Linked DNA regions of Homo sapiens: region 2 is linked to region 1. Evidence: promoter capture Hi-C in 16 types of primary human blood cells and fetal thymus (Javierre and others, 2016). All regions are on one chromosome and are shown on one strand. Each heading gives the region's core, a stretch centred on a gene start or on the middle of the fragment in contact. The rest is flanking DNA. Distances are from core to core; before and after follow the strand shown. Region 1 holds the start of STX16-NPEPL1 (STX16-NPEPL1 readthrough (NMD candidate)). Region 2 overlaps RAE1 (ribonucleic acid export 1).

Region 1 (7,879 bases), core at 1,024-3,523:
TTCACTTACCTTATTTGATCTTCACAATAACCCCAGAGAAGTAGACAGGGCGCGGATTACGAGGATTACGAAAAACCCACATTTTTTTCTTTTTTTCTTAACAGATAAGGGCTCTAAAGGCTTAAAGTCACTCGAGGGAGGTCAGAGAGTTTGGGGACTAAATCTCGAGTCTCTCATTAATTCATGCACATATTTAAAAAATATTTATCCGGAGCCTGTTCCAAGCCAGATGAGATGGCAGTGGGTACAAAGATGAATAAAACACTGTCCCTGCGTAGGAAGAAGATCACGTTCTAGCCTGGGGGAGAGCGCCAGGAAAAGTAAACAGGTCCCCCCCTGCTTTGTGAGGTGATGAGTGCTGGGGAGATAGGAAGAGAGTGGGGACCATGTTTCTAATCTGATTCTCCTACCGACGACCAGCTCAGTTGTTATTTACAAATACCTGTCCCCTAAAGGGGGGAGCGGGGTTGGGGGGGCTTGGCCGTGCTGCTGGGGTCAGAGCTCGCAGGGGGGTTCTGCCGCAGTGTGGGGACAAACTCTCCCTTATTGGGCAAATATTTCCCGGGGCGCTACGCTAAGCACACGGGCTCCCCGAATTTCCCTCCCCAGGGCCTCTCTGTCTTTGGATGGCCTGTCAGCAAGTCCCTGCAGCCTCCAGCCCGGCCCGCGCGGCGACCCAGTCCCCTGTCGCCCGAATCTTCCACCGCTGCGAAGCGTCCCCGGGCGAGCGCCCTGCTCTCCGCGCTGCGCGGAAGCCAGAGCCGGTCCTCACAGTGAACTCGCCCAGCCCTGCTCGCGGCTCTCTCGATTTTATGTGGGTTTCGTTGGATGCATTTTGTTATTTGCCTCAATGGATGTTTCACATTAATTTTTAGTTGCACAACGAACGCGCGGGAACATTCTCCGTGAGAGAAAAAGCACGGGTGGGGGGCGGTTACCGGTGCTTCCCCCGGTCGCCTGGGGGTCCCGCACGCGCCCCGCGGGTGCCGCTGTCTGGCTGGGGTCCCTGGGTGAGCCGCGGGCACCGGCTTCGCGTCTCCCCGGGCGCGACTCCGCTTTGCAAGCGCTCAGCACACGGGAAACCCTCGGAAAACACACACGTGTGTAAAGTTTGTTCCACGCAGAAACAAAGGACGCGTGGGGGCCGCTTCTGGGGCCTCGGTCCTTTGTTGGAACCCCGCACCGCAGCCCGGCCCGCAGCCTCGCCCCGCAAGGGGAAGCCGGCCCTGCACAGGCCCGGGGCCCGGAAGGCGCCGCCGCACAGCTCTGCGCCCCCGACCCGCTCCGGCCGCGCGCTGGGCCAGGCCCTTGGCCTCAAGCCTCCCGGGCGGCTCCGGGCCGGACCCGGGTCTCCGTCGCGGGACGCCAGCCTGTTTGTGGGTGCCGTGCTCGGGCCCGGGCGGCCCCTGCCCGACGCGGCCCCACGGAGCCCCTGCACGAACCCCGCCGACCTGGCCCGGGGCGGCAAGTCGAGGTGCTTAGGGCGCCCTGGGCCCGGCCAACCGTGGAAAACCCGGCCCGGGGCACGGGGGGGCGCGGGGGTCGCAGGGCCAGGGCCCAGGCAGGGAACAGAGATTTTTTTCGCGGGGAGGGGGGTGGGAGGTGTCAAAGTTTTCGGGGAACTTTTCCACTTGAGATTCCACGACCCTGCAGTGCCCCCTACAGAAAGCGGCAGCTGGGGAGGGCGGGCGCCCCCGACGACCCCCGACTGCCAGCGGCGGCGCGGCCAGGCTGCCTGGAGTTCTTGTTCCTTTTTTTTTTTTTTTTTTCCTTTTATTTCCTCGTGGTTGTTTGTCGGATACATCTTTTTCCAGAGTGGGAAAAAAAAAAAAAAAAGCGAGCGCCGCCGCCTGCAGTAGAGCGTGCTCGGCCTGCAGAGGCAGTCGTCTCCAACTTTTCCTCTCCCGCTCCAACTCCCCGCGCCCAAAACTTCAGTTCTTGGGGAGCCCAAATTTGCCTGCCGCGCAACTTCCACTCTAATTCAGCGACCAAGGGCCCTGGCAGCGGTTTGCAGCCTGGGGGCCACGCTCCCCAGGCTCAGGCCTGCTCGTTGGCCTGCTCCTAGTGCCTGGACCCAGTTGGGGGAGGCGAAACAGGGCGCCCGAGGAGCACCCCGGGAGAGGGCGGAGCACTCCCGTGCCCCGGGGCAGGAGTGCAGGGAGCTCCCGCGCCCGGAACGTTGCGAGCAAGGCTTGCGAGCGTCGCAGGGGGGCACTCGCGAGGGACGGACAGGAAGAGGGCCAGGGGGGAACGCCAGAACCCGGGACCACAGCACGGAAACGGTCCGGGGCTGAGCTGCAGTCAGATCCGGGGATGGAGGGAGCCGGAGAAGAGGAGTGAGAAGGCCGGGGAGGCAGGCCCTGCTGTCTTCCTGCAGGCCGGCAGCCTGCTGGCAGTGGAGGACCAGGCCGTCCAGGAAAGGAAGGGGTCAGGAGGTCGGGCAGGGCCTCAGCAGGTTCAGACAAGTCCCCAGAAGGGAGCTGCAGGCGCCCTCGAGTCCAGGCCCCAAGCCTGGCTCCGGTTGTCCAAAGAGGGCCTAGGCCAGGCCTCTGGTGCGGAAACTGAGTCACAGCCAGACCTCAGGGCACGGCCTAGACGCTTACGAGCCAAAGTTAGGGGTAGAGAGCAGAGACCTCCGGGGGGTCTCAGGGAGTAGGGGGCTTCAGGGCCTCCCAGTCTAGAGCCGGATTGGCGAGTTAGACGCTTGTAGATCCAAGGTTGGATTGGGGTGGGGTCTCTGGGACGTTGGATCGCTACGCAAGGATTGGGGGGATTCAAGTGCTTAGAGATCGAAGTCTGCCCTGGGTAGGGGGAGTCAGACAATTGGAAAGCCTAGGTAGTTATTTGGGGAGGGGTCTCTACGCCTTGGCGAAGCGCACAGCTGCATCTTTTTGGCTTGAGGCCTGAGGCCTTGTCGAGAAGCTTCCGTGAAAGGGTGGGCCAGCCGGGCCACGAGAAAGAAAGTGAATAAATCAGGAATATAAGTGGGCGGGGGGCCCCTGAGAGGGGGGTCGCAAAGGGTGAGACATGGCCACCAGGCGTTTAACCGACGCTTTCTTGTTGTTGCGGAATAATTCCATCCAAAACCGGCAGCTGTTAGCCGAGCAAGTGAGTAGTCACATCACCTCCAGCCCTCTGCATTCACGTAGCATTGCTGCGGTGAGTCTCCTGGCGGCCTCTCCGACACACGGACCGTGTGCACTGCGGCTCTGCCTGTTTGTCTGTCTCTGTCTGTCTCTCTGTTTAAAAAGAGAAGATAAGAATAATAAGACTAAGAATAATAAGATCTCTTGGCTAGAGTCAGGGGGCATCTGTAGCCCTGGATGAGGAAGAAGCGGTGCTGTGAGGCCGCAGCTCCACCTCTGCCCGGTCTTCTCCTCACTTCCGCAGCACCCCCCCCCCCGCACCCCCCGCCTTGGCGTCACTGCGCTACAGGCCGCCTGTAATTTACATATGTTTTAACGCTAACATTGGGAAGCATTGGGCCTTTCTGAAGCCTTTTTGTTTCGTTTTGTTTGAAGCTCCCCTCCCCCCAGTAATGAGCCTCAGTTTGGTCCTAAGGGCTGGGTCGCCGGATCGTAGACCCAAATCCTTGCAAAATGAACGACTCCCTCCCCTCAAAGAGGAGGGAGTTGTGTTGTTGTTTTGTTTTGTTTTGTTTTTCCGCCCGTTTTCTTTTAACGGCCCCGCAGCCCTCTGTGTGGCCTTGTTCCCTGTGAATAATTGCCTCACTGTTCTTCCTGGGGGCTTGCGTTTGTGAGACTCAAGGTGCTAGCCTCTTCACTTTCCATTTCCCAGACAGGAAATTAAGCTTTCCTCTCCATTCGAACTTTTTAAAAAAAGCCTGAGGAGGTATATGTGAAAATTAACCCCGTAAAATAGCACTTTTTTTTTTTAATTAACCACAACCTTTAGTTAGCCTAGCAGTAGCGTTTTTTAAGGGTGGTCCTGGAAAAATTACTGTTTGGGGTTTGTTTTTAATGGGGGCTACTTTTCCCTTTCTGAGCCTCAGTTTACTGCTCTGTTAAATAAGGGGCGAGTCTGGATGATCTATACCAGACAGTGATCGTTAGCTCTGTAATGTCTTCAATTGAAAAGTGAAGTTATGAAACTGGCTGTAGTTCAGGCTACCTGCTGTAGGCAGACTAGGTTGGAATAGAAGCAGCGTTGGAACAGGCGGGAAATAGCCATCCCAGGACCACATTCTTGGGGGTTATACTTGATATTAGGCAATTTTGGAACATTCATTTCACCTCTTAGGGACTGTATTGCCAGTTTATTTTTTTCTTTATGGCTTTATCTAAATGCTTCAGGAAAATTTTGCCATATGTCATGATTATCATGTCTACAAAGACAGTTTCTCCTTTTTGTAAGTCACAGGTGGAGAATGTCTTTGGCCATATAACTGATAGAAAAGTCATTTTAAGCCGTGTGAGCGGTTTCAGGAATAAAAGCATGTAAACTCAGGTCAAACAGCCTAGAACTAGGGACAGAGTGTGTGTGAGATTTCAGTTAATTAAGAAGTTGAAGGGTTTTTTTTACATTTATAAACGGAAAGGAATTACATTATATTGAAATAAATGTAAAGATGTCTGGTAGCATAGAAACAGGCTAATTCTAGCGCTAATTTTGAAGAAGAAATAATCCAAGAAATCGAGTAGAAATTGGATGAATTCAATTCCTTAATGGAACTTCAGTAATGTTAAATAAGAACTGCATGTTCCTTAAATGACTTGATTTTGTGCTGCCTCAAAAACTACTGAAACTCATATTAAGATTTCTAAGGTATCAGTTTTAATTGAAAAACATATTGTTTATTTTTCAATTTTTAATCATTAAGGTTCAAAATACCCTGAACCTTTGGGTAACATGAGGGTTTTTTTTTTTTTCCCGATTAAGTCAGACAGTTTAAAAACCTAGTATCTGAGACGGGAAGCTTTTTAAAAGTGCATCTCTGAATCAGACCACTTTAGAAAATTATTTTCTAAGTTAGGCAATTTTAAAAAATATTTAAGCTAAGCAGAATAATTAAAAATGGATAGTTAACGTATACAGTTTGGAAAAATAGATATGTCAGGGTATATACAGATACATTTAGCTAACTCACAGTTTTTTGAAAATAGATTTCTAAACCCAACTAAAAATACATTTCTAAGAACGTTAAAAAATGTTTTCTAAATGTCATACCATTGAAAATGTTAATATTTATATTAGTCTGACCATTTAAAATCTTTCTCAGATCATTGAAAGCAGTCATATCATTTAAAATATCCTTATAGTCAATCCATACTATCTCAAAAATAGGTTTTGCAGTCTAACAAACATAGTTTGCCTGAATTCAAATTTAAAAATAAAACACAGATTTATATATTTTAATTGTGTTAAAAAATGGCATGTCATAAATTTCTGAAGTATTTAGGGTTGAAGTGTTACATCTTCACTTTGCTTACAGGTGATTCGTAACAAAATCTATTCTGCACACAGTACGGCGAAATGCTAACAAGACTAAATAGAGGTTATGATTTTTTCAACTTTTCTGGAAGTTGGAAAAGCTTTATAAACATTTTGAAGCAAAAGCCATGTTTAACACAATTTGTAAAATCTATTGAGTAACTCTTAGCAATGCTTTTCACTGCATATCTAGCTCACAAAAAATTTAAAGCCTTGTTTCTGACTTGTAAATTTCAAAGCCATGTAGCAAACCAAACAAAATCGTATCTGTCAAATTTTGAATATGGACTAGGTATTAGGTGACATTAAGGAATTAATTATAATACATTACATTTGCTAATTTTATTAGAGATGCCTACTGAAATGTTTAGTGGTGAAATGTCAAGGCATCTTACCTAAGTCCTTAAACCCCTCCAAAAATAGAGGAAGCAAATAAGGCAAATTGTTACTCATTGTTAAGTCTAGTGATGAGTATGTGTGCGACATTTTACCATTTTGTAGGCTTTTCTGCATGTTTGAAAATTTTTAAATAGAAACTTAAAGTAAGTATATTTGTTATAGTAAAGTAAAACAGTTAAAAAGAGGCAATTTGTAAATACATGTCTAACACTCAGGCAATTTGAAAGGAAGAAATTAAACCTAAGTTTAACTTAATTTAAAAAATAATAACCTGGAATTTTAAGTTTCCAATTAGAAGAAAAAGCTGTAGACTTTGATCTTGATGCATTTGATACCAACTAAAAATACACCTAAAATAACAGACTTTTTAAAAAAAAAATTGTAATCCTGAATTTTGACATCTTATTTCAGGAAAAAGCTGCAGAAATTAATTGCAGAGTAGTGTGTATCATACACCTCAAAGCAAAGCACACCTAAAGCCATGCCATTCAAAAAATTTAAACATGCATTTTTTGCATCCTAGTTTGAGGGAAAAAACTAGAATTTGGTTGTTGTAGTGGGGTTATTGTGTGTCCCTGTGCGTGCATACAGGGTTTTGCAGCATTCAGGCAAATATGTCAAATAAACAGGAATTTAAGGAGGATACGCAGTGACCAGATAAACACAAAGCCTCAAGGGCCAGAAGGAACCTAAAGGTCATTTGGCCTAATGTCCCCATTTGTGATAACCCCTCATGCCTATCTTATTTGGCCATGGTGTATGACAATGATGGAAAATGCCAGCAGCTCCATGATTTTTACCACTAAAAAGTCTTTGCCTGTTAATCCCAACTATTTGTGTCCTGGGGTCCTGCTTTTAGTTCTGTTCCTTCGGGTCTTCCTTCTGTCTGGTAACCCTGCAGCCTTGTTACCCAGAATTCTTTCCAGGCCTAGCATTCCCGGCTCAGAGTGGTTATGCTTTTTTCCTATAAATGATGTTTAGTTTTTCTGTATCCTTTTTAGATTTCAGCATCCAGAACTGAGCAAAATTCTACTTTTTTGTGTTCTTAGTTGTATTAAAGTTAGTAAAACTAATTGTAAAAAAACAGACAGGTTTGACTTTATGCACTCCTAACAAAATACAGTCGTATTTCCCATGCATTTTACTTTGGCCTCAGTTTTGAGTGCCCCATCACGTTCATGCCTCAGGGCAGCATGAAATAAAGGAAAGAGCACTGAGAATTGAATCTGAGAATTGAGGCCTAAGTCCTGTTCTGCTGCAGGCTCAGAGTGTGTCCTTAGGCAAGCCTTTAATCTTTTCGGACATTTTTTGCCTCATTTGTAAACTGAGGGGTTTGGGTTAGGTGATTTCCAGCAGCCCTATCGATTCAACAGTATTTTCTCAAGTTCTGTTTTAATACATTGTTTCTCCTGACTTTAGCTTTAATTTGAAAAGGAGAAATTCATAGTCAACAGTGTTGTAGCTGTCAGTCCAAGGTTACTGACAGAAATCCTTAGAAGTAGCCCCAGTACTGTGCAAAAGTAACTTTCACATTATTATGCCAGCCAAGTGCAGGTTTTAAGGTAGCAACTCATTCAAGCAGCTTGGCTTTAGGAAACTGAAATGGATTTATGAAGCTAAACAATTATTCAAAACAAATTGTAAAGTCATAAAGAAATGAATGAAAGGTAGATATTGAGATGCTCTTCTGATCTGATGAAATTCTGTATGGATTTGTGTGGTTTCCTTCGATCTCCGGGAATGGATCTAATATAGGGGTTGGAGCTACTTTGTTAGTGTTTACTGCCTAATCTATACTCTGCTTTAAAATAATGCATAATCTATAATTGGAAGCTAGCGTTAATTGGTCTTAGATTAGTTTGAAACATAAGCACATTATTTTTAATAAAATGTGTGCTTTAGGAAAAAGGAAATTAAGGATTAACTATGGTTATAAGAAACCTGAGGTCCTTATTCAGGCTTGACTACAATATTAGCTAAGATTTATGGAGAGTTTACTTTGTGCCTGGCTCTGGGCTAAGCCCTTTCC
Region 2 (7,084 bases), core at 220-2,719, 1.3 Mb before region 1:
GATTCGCTTCCCGGACTGGTTGTTCTAGGTAGTTTCATGCGGATGCTGACCTAAACTAGAATGTAGAAATTAGTAGGAAAGTGAATGCCCACTAGGTGGAAACCTGAAAGCACGGGGACCTGCGATCTTGTTTACTGTTATATTCCTGCTGCGCAGCTCAGGGTCTCTATGTAAAAAATGAGTGAATTTATTTTCTAGCTGGTGCCTACAAAATAATCTGCAATGTATCCATACTGGTTTATTAATGGTAACAAATGAACCGTACTAATATGAGATAATAGGGGAAACTAGATATGGAGTGTATGGGAATTCTATCTTTACTATTTCTGGAAACCTAAAACTACTCTAAAATAGAAGGTTTATGTTTTGAAAGCACTCTGCTCATTGCGCTCTTGTCTGAAAAGTGAAGCCTGGCCTCAAGCCACTTTGAGTATTTCTCTTCTGCCAGTTAATTATCTTACCATTGCCTCTCAGTGATATTAAGAGAAAACCCATCCTTAACATTTTTCATTACTTTTTAGGTTCAAAATGAGCCTGTTTGGAACAACCTCAGGTTTTGGAACCAGTGGGACCAGCATGTTTGGCAGTGCAACTACAGACAATCACAATCCCATGAAGGTACCACGAAAAGCTTCCTGGGGCTTGTAGGAAGAGTTTGGGCAGAGTTTCTCCCATCAAGGACAGAACCCGAGATGACTTGGGAGCCTCCTTTAGGCTGAAAGCTTTGAAACTTTGTCTAACTCATGTTTCTGAAACACTGGAGCACAGAAAATGTGTCCCCGTACTTGTGTCCTGTTCTTCCTGGCCTGCCAGGTCTCCAGAATCACCCAAGGTGCAGATTCCGGTGCAGATTCCCAGGGCCTGGCCCAGCCAGGACTGTTGACTCAGAATTCCCATGGTTGGAGAGAGGGGATGGCAGGTGAAAACTGTGATCTAGCACTGTGGGGCCAGAGTGAACTGGTCATTTAGAAAACAAGACCATGGGCATTTCATTAGCAGCTGCTACTGCTAGTCCTGGTGGTGCTGGTACTTTCTCTAGCTTATTTTTTACTCCTGTCTTTGATCAAAGTAAGGAAAGGTCTAATTCAGTTAGTTCTTGTACACAAGGAAAGGCCACCGTGAGGTAATTAGTGAGAAAGAAAACAATTTGGAATGAAGTTGTGAGCGTGCATACATTTTAACATTGACTTTTTTCCCGCAGGATATTGAAGTAACATCATCTCCTGATGATAGCATTGGTTGTCTGTCTTTTAGCCCACCAACCTTGCCGGGGAACTTTCTTATTGCAGGATCATGGGCTAATGATGTAAGTGCTCCTTAAATACGTGTTCTAGAAATCATCTCTCTTTGTATGGCCAAGGTTAGCTTTAGCTCCGTTGTTTCCCAAGTAAATGAATCAGTTGGACTTATTTATGGCCTTTTTTGAGAAATCAATTTAGGGGGTGTGAACCCTTCTGAATGGCAGACATTATTCTTACACCCGTTTTTGTTAGGAAAGCACAATCATATGTGTTGCTCGAAATTTTCTACTTTAGTTCAGTCTCTTGAAGTTTATTCCCAAATCAAATATCATATTCATCCAGAGTGAACATTATACCCAGTGGCACACACCAACAAATTCCCTTTCTTGGCATCCTGACAGTGTTCCTCAGGCATGTATGAAACTTTTTCAACGTTAAATAATAGCACAGATTTGCCTAGATACTTACTCATCATGTACAAAAAGAAAGACAAAAAAATTACAGTTTACTAAAAGAAAGAAAACTCTGGTAGAAAAATAAGCAAAGGGTGTAAAGAGGGACTTCACAAAAGAAAGAATAAACCTGAACCATTCATCCATGCTTGTAATCAGATAAATGCAAATTTAAGACTTTTTTTTATTAAATTAACAAAATTAAAAGTTTAAAAGAATAATAGTGCCAGCAAGGATAAGCTGAAACCCTGCATGTATGGCTGGTAGGTATGTAAGTTGGCTTTTCCACAGGATAATTGGCAATAGTTATCAAAAATCCTTCAGCTTATACCCTTTATCTCACTGATACCCTTCTGGGACTTGAGTAGGAAATCTGATAATGTACTTCATCTGCATTATCTAAATTAACCTTTATAACAGCCAAAGCACTGTGAACTTGTGAAAATTTTGAAAATTTTAATATCCAGTAGTAATGGCAATGTATAGTATGTTTGTATGATGGAATACCATTGTAAGTTTTTGGAAAAGCTTTTGAACTGTAGCCTACAGCACAGGGGCAGCAGGGGTTAGGAGAACAGGAGGGAGGATGGTAGTCAAGGTTGAGCAAGCTTGCTTTCTACATGTAATTTTTAGAAAGATTTCAGATTATTTGCTGCTTAAAAAAAGGATGTTTCAAGTTGAACAGGCTAGTGATGCAGGTGAGGAAAGCTGTAGCTGCAAAAGTGAAGACACTGTATAATCTAGTGTCTTCCAGAAAATATGCGTACATGGAAAGAAGACTAAGAGCACACAGAACCATTAGCTGTGGTTGTCTGTGGTGTGATTAGGGTGATTTTTATTTTTTTGCCATATTTACAAAATCTCTAAAATGTATTACTTTTTTAACGGAGGGGAGATTATATAAAGTATTCAGAAAAGAGGTAAGTTTCTACTTTGGTCTTGATTCTCTGAATGGTAATGGGTAAGTGATATTCTACTTTAAAAGACATATCTCATAGATGCATTGAGAAAATTATCTGCAATTTTATGTGTAAGCAATAGAATTTGTTTATTTTAATAGCTTAGGCGAAGAAAACAGTTGCTTTCATAGATATTTTAATTCCTTTGTTCTTGAAGTTAGATAATTAGGTTGCTATGAGAAGTCTATGTATGGTTAAGGTGTACCCCATTAGTTTTTAGGTGTTAAATGCAAGCAATACATCGTAATTGCTTTGTTTGCATTGAATTTTTTTGTTACTACAGGTTCGCTGCTGGGAAGTTCAAGACAGTGGACAGACCATTCCAAAAGCCCAGCAGATGCACACTGGGCCTGTGCTTGATGTCTGCTGGAGTGACGTACGTTCCCTTCCATTTCTCGTGTTCCATTTTACTTAAAGTACAGAATGATTTAGAATATTTAATAATCCAAACACAAATAGCATATATGTGTTCATATTGTAGGAATTCTAAGTTTCTGAACATAAATATAGTCATTTATTGATGTTCTTAATGTTGGCTTTAGTTAGCCACTTTCTTTGAAAGCTTTTCTTGTATTAAATTTTGTGTGTGTGATTGAGGAGAGTTTAATGATTAAGGGATAATTTATGAAGAAGCCAGCAGGGAAGGTGAAACACCGGTGCCAAGCTGCAGTGGGCGGGCCTCCTGGAGCACAGCATGAGCTGCAGCTGTAGAGGGGCTTCCACCTGGCGCGGGAGAGCCAGGGGATGAACAGCTGTAGACGGGCCTCGGCCTGGCGAGGGGAGCCAGGGGTTGAACACCCCAGCCTCTCTCCTCCCTTCTCCTGCCATTGCTGCTGGTGGCTGAACCCAACAGTAGTGAGAATGTTAAGGGGCCTGGTGACAGGCAGACACACTGCAGTGCTGAAGAAGCTAAGCCTTGAGGCCCCTTCCGAGGCCTTGTACCTGTTCCTTTAGTCAGGTTTATTGAGTCTGATTTGCCTGCTGTAAAACTGAACCTTTTTGGTATACAGCTCTGTGAGTGTTAAGAAATGCATAGAGTTGTGTTCTAGATATAGAACAGATCCATCGGCCTCCAAATTCTCTTCCTTCCTTTTGTCGTCAAATCCTTCCCAGCTCGCAGCCCCTGGAAACTACTCATCTGTTTTTTTTGTCCCTATAGTTTTGCTTTTACAAGAGTATCATCTAAATAAATCCTATAGGGTGCAACCTTTGCGCTCAGCATGTTGCATTAACGTATGGTGATTGTTTTGTCAGATATATTTCCTATGTTTGGGGTGGGATGCTGGAAATTAGGACAAGCATTGAGATATAGCATCTGCAAAATGCTAATGTAAGTGGTAGGAGTTTTCTCATAAAAGATGTACGAGTTGGTCTTAGCGGTATTGGGGTTATGCCATTCGAATTTGTAAGAAGAGAGTGGTTTAGAAGGGTCTTGGTAATTAAATTTGTGGTATAGAGTTCTGGTAAATATACAGTGTGTAGTGCTCCTAGGAAAATAGTAGTAGTTAGGGCATTTATTATGATAATATTCATGTATTCTGCTATAAAGAAGGGGGCAAATGAGCCTGCGGCATATTCGATGTTGAAGCCTGAGACTAACTCTGACTCTCCTTTTGTTAGATCAAAAGAGGCTCAGTTAGTTTCTGCTAGTGTGGGGATAAATCATATTATGGCTAGGGGCCATGATGATAGGAGCAGTCAGAGGAATTCTTGTGATGAGTATGTGTAAGTTAAATGAGCTGCTTATCAGTAGAACTGATAGCTGGATAATAGCTAGGGTGACTTCATATGAAATCGTGTGGGCCACAGCTCATAGTGCGCTGATTAGTGCATATTTTGAATTAGATGCTCATCCTGATCATAGAATAGATAGACGGCTAGGCTTGATGTGGCTAGTTTAAATAGGAGGCCTACATTAAAATTAGAGGATCTGGTATAGGGAGGGGGGTTCATAAGAGGAGAGCGATAGAGAGGGCTAGGATTGGAGCAATAATATAAAGGGTGATAGTAGATGTTAAGGGCCGCGAGGGTTCTTTGGTGAAAAGTTTTATTGCATCAAAAAATGGTTCAAGCAGTCTGTAAGGACCTACAATGTTGAGTCCTTTGCATAGTTGTATATAGCCTAAGATTTTTCATTCGATGAGTGTAAGGAACGCTATCGCGATAAGAGTGGGGATAATGAGCAGGAGGAGGTTAATTACAGGCATGTTGTTAAGAAGAGGAGTTGAACCTCTGATTATAAAGTGTTAAGTTTTATGCAATCGCTGGGCTCTGCCATCTTAACAAACCCTGTTCTTGGGTAGGATGTGTGATGATTTAAGAGACTGGGATGGCATCATCTATGGAGTGAGGGCACTTTATGAAGTGGGCCCTATTTCTCTTGTCCTTTCGTAGTAGGAGGAATGTTAAGTAGGTAGAAACCGACCTGGATTACTCTGGTCTGAACTGAGATCACATAGGACTTTAATCATTGAACAAACAAACTCTTAATAGCGGCTACACCATTAGGATGTCCTGATCCAACATCGAGGTCGTAAACTCTATTGTCGATATGGACTCTAGTATAGGATTGCGCTGTTATCCCTAGGGTAACTTACTCCGTTTATCAAATTATTGGGTCGATGTGTAATAACTCACTTAGACTTGTGTGGTCTTAGGTTGTTAGGAGGTTGAATTATGCTCCGAGGTCACCCCAACCAAAATTTTTAATGCAGGGATAGGAGGCTAGGGCCTGTAGGCTTGTTGGAGTTTTTATTTGCATTGATGAATTAAAGCTCCATAAGGTTTTCTCGTCTTATTTGTTTATATCCGCCTCTTCACGGATAGATCAATTTCACTGGTTGAAAGTAAGAGACAGCTGAACCTTCGTGTGGCCATTCATTCAAGTCCCTATTTAGAGAACAAGTGATTATGCTACCTTCGCACGGTCAGGATACCACAGCTGTTGAATATATGTCACTGGGCAGATAGTGCCTCTAATACTGGTAATGCTAGAGGTGATGTTTTTGGTAAACAGGCGGGGTAAGATTTGCTGAGTTCCTTTTATTTTTTTGTAATGTTTCCTTAGAGCATGCCTGTGTTGGGTTAACAGTGCAAATAATACGGTGTTTATTATATCATTTATTAATATTGGGATGTTAACTGTCAGTGGGTTACTCCCGTCTGATGTAAGCTTATGCAATGGAGAATGTCTTCATCTTACTTACATTAACATTACTGCTTCTATTAAGTAATAGATTAGTCCAATGTGATGTTAGGAGTTCAGTAGACTGGTTAGAATTTAAGATAGTTAGATATTGAGCTTAAATGCTTTCTTAATTAGTGGCTGCTTTTGGGCCAACTGTGGTGGTAATGTTTTTTACTCTCTGTAGGAAGGGTCTAAAGAGCTGTCTGTCTCTCTAGACTAACAGTTAAACTTACAGGGAGTTTAAGTAATTCTGTGGGTAAGTTGAAAGTTGAACTAAGCCAGCCAGCTATCACCAGGCTCGGTAGGCGTGTCACCGCTACTCATGAATCTTCCCACTGTTTTGCCACATAGGTGAGTGTGCTCTTTCAGCTATTCTTGGGTAGCTCGTCTGGTTTCGGGGGACTTGGCCATAGTTCTATGTAAAGTTATTTCTAGTTAATGCATTATGCAGAAGGTATAAGGGCTTGTCTTTGCTTTTTAGTCCTCAATACAGTTCTTTCATCCTTCCCTTACAGTACTGTGTCTATTGCCAGAAATATCTACCAGGGTAGAAATTTCTATCGCCTATACTTTTGTTTAAGGTAAATGGTTTGATTAAGATAGTTTGATAATATTTTTAGCGAGGTTTGGGGCTAGAGTTGTCTGAGTGGTCAGGTCATGATGAAATCTTCTGGATGTAAGCCGGATGCTTTGGGTTAAGCTACACTTTGGTTTATCCAAGCGCACTTTCCAGTATGCTTACCATGTTACAATTTATCTCCTCTATACCTGTGTAGAAAATTATCAGTAATAGTGATTTCTAGAGTAGTATTCGAGGAAGGTGATGGGCTGTGTGTGCGTGCTTCATGGCCTTATTCAACCAAGCACTCTGCTCTTGGTTTACTGCTAAATCCTCCTTAAGCCCTTAGATTTCATAAGGCTGTCATGAGATTTTCTGGACATAGAAAATGTTGCCCATTTCTTGCCACCTCATGGGCTACACCTTGACCTAACGTTTTTATGTGTATACTTGTGCTTACTCTATAACCTTTTTAGGGTTTGCTGCAGATGGGCATATAGGCCAGGGGCAAGAGGTGGTGAGACGTATCGGGGTTTATTGATTATAGAACAGGCTCCTCTAGAGGGATATAAAGCACCACCAAGTCCTTTGAGTTTTAAATTGTTGCTTGTAGTACTCTGGCGAATGGTTTTGTTAATGTAACTGTTAGGGTTTAGGGCTAAGCATAGAGGGGTATCTAATCCCAG

Evidence for each region. The method cuts DNA at HindIII sites, captures the fragments that hold promoters and counts their contacts. A CHiCAGO score of 5 or more calls a contact.
Region 2: a fragment that was not itself captured here is called in contact with the fragment with the promoter of STX16-NPEPL1 in region 1 in 1 of 17 cell types (total B cells); the score reaches 5.4 in total B cells.

What each region holds. Positions count from the first base shown.
Region 1 is chr20:58,648,980-58,656,858 of GRCh38, forward strand. It overlaps STX16-NPEPL1 (STX16-NPEPL1 readthrough (NMD candidate)), which reads left to right and starts at 2,274. Exons shown (of 23, transcript NR_037945.1): 1 at 2,274-3,159. STX16 (syntaxin 16) reads left to right here and starts at 2,304. Exons shown (of 9, transcript NM_001001433.3): 1 at 2,304-3,159. The coding sequence starts at 3,028. LOC107985410 (a long non-coding RNA gene) reads right to left here and starts at 656. Exons shown (of 3, transcript XR_005647058.2): 1 at 10-656. RefSeq lists enhancers at 1-33, 3,063-3,332, 3,170-3,673 and a silencer at 1,207-1,566. The HindIII fragment of the contact is 2,998 bases long and covers 1-2,920 here.
Region 2 is chr20:57,353,511-57,360,594 of GRCh38, forward strand. RAE1 (ribonucleic acid export 1) reads left to right here. Exons shown (of 12, transcript NM_003610.4): 2 at 522-618; 3 at 1,202-1,306; 4 at 2,936-3,028. The coding sequence starts at 529. It also overlaps the pseudogene MTND1P9, the pseudogene NMTRL-TAA5-1 and the pseudogene MTRNR2L3. Among named protein-coding and RNA genes, the nearest start is that of RAE1, 5.8 kb to the left of the region's middle. The HindIII fragment of the contact is 1,499 bases long and covers 721-2,219 here.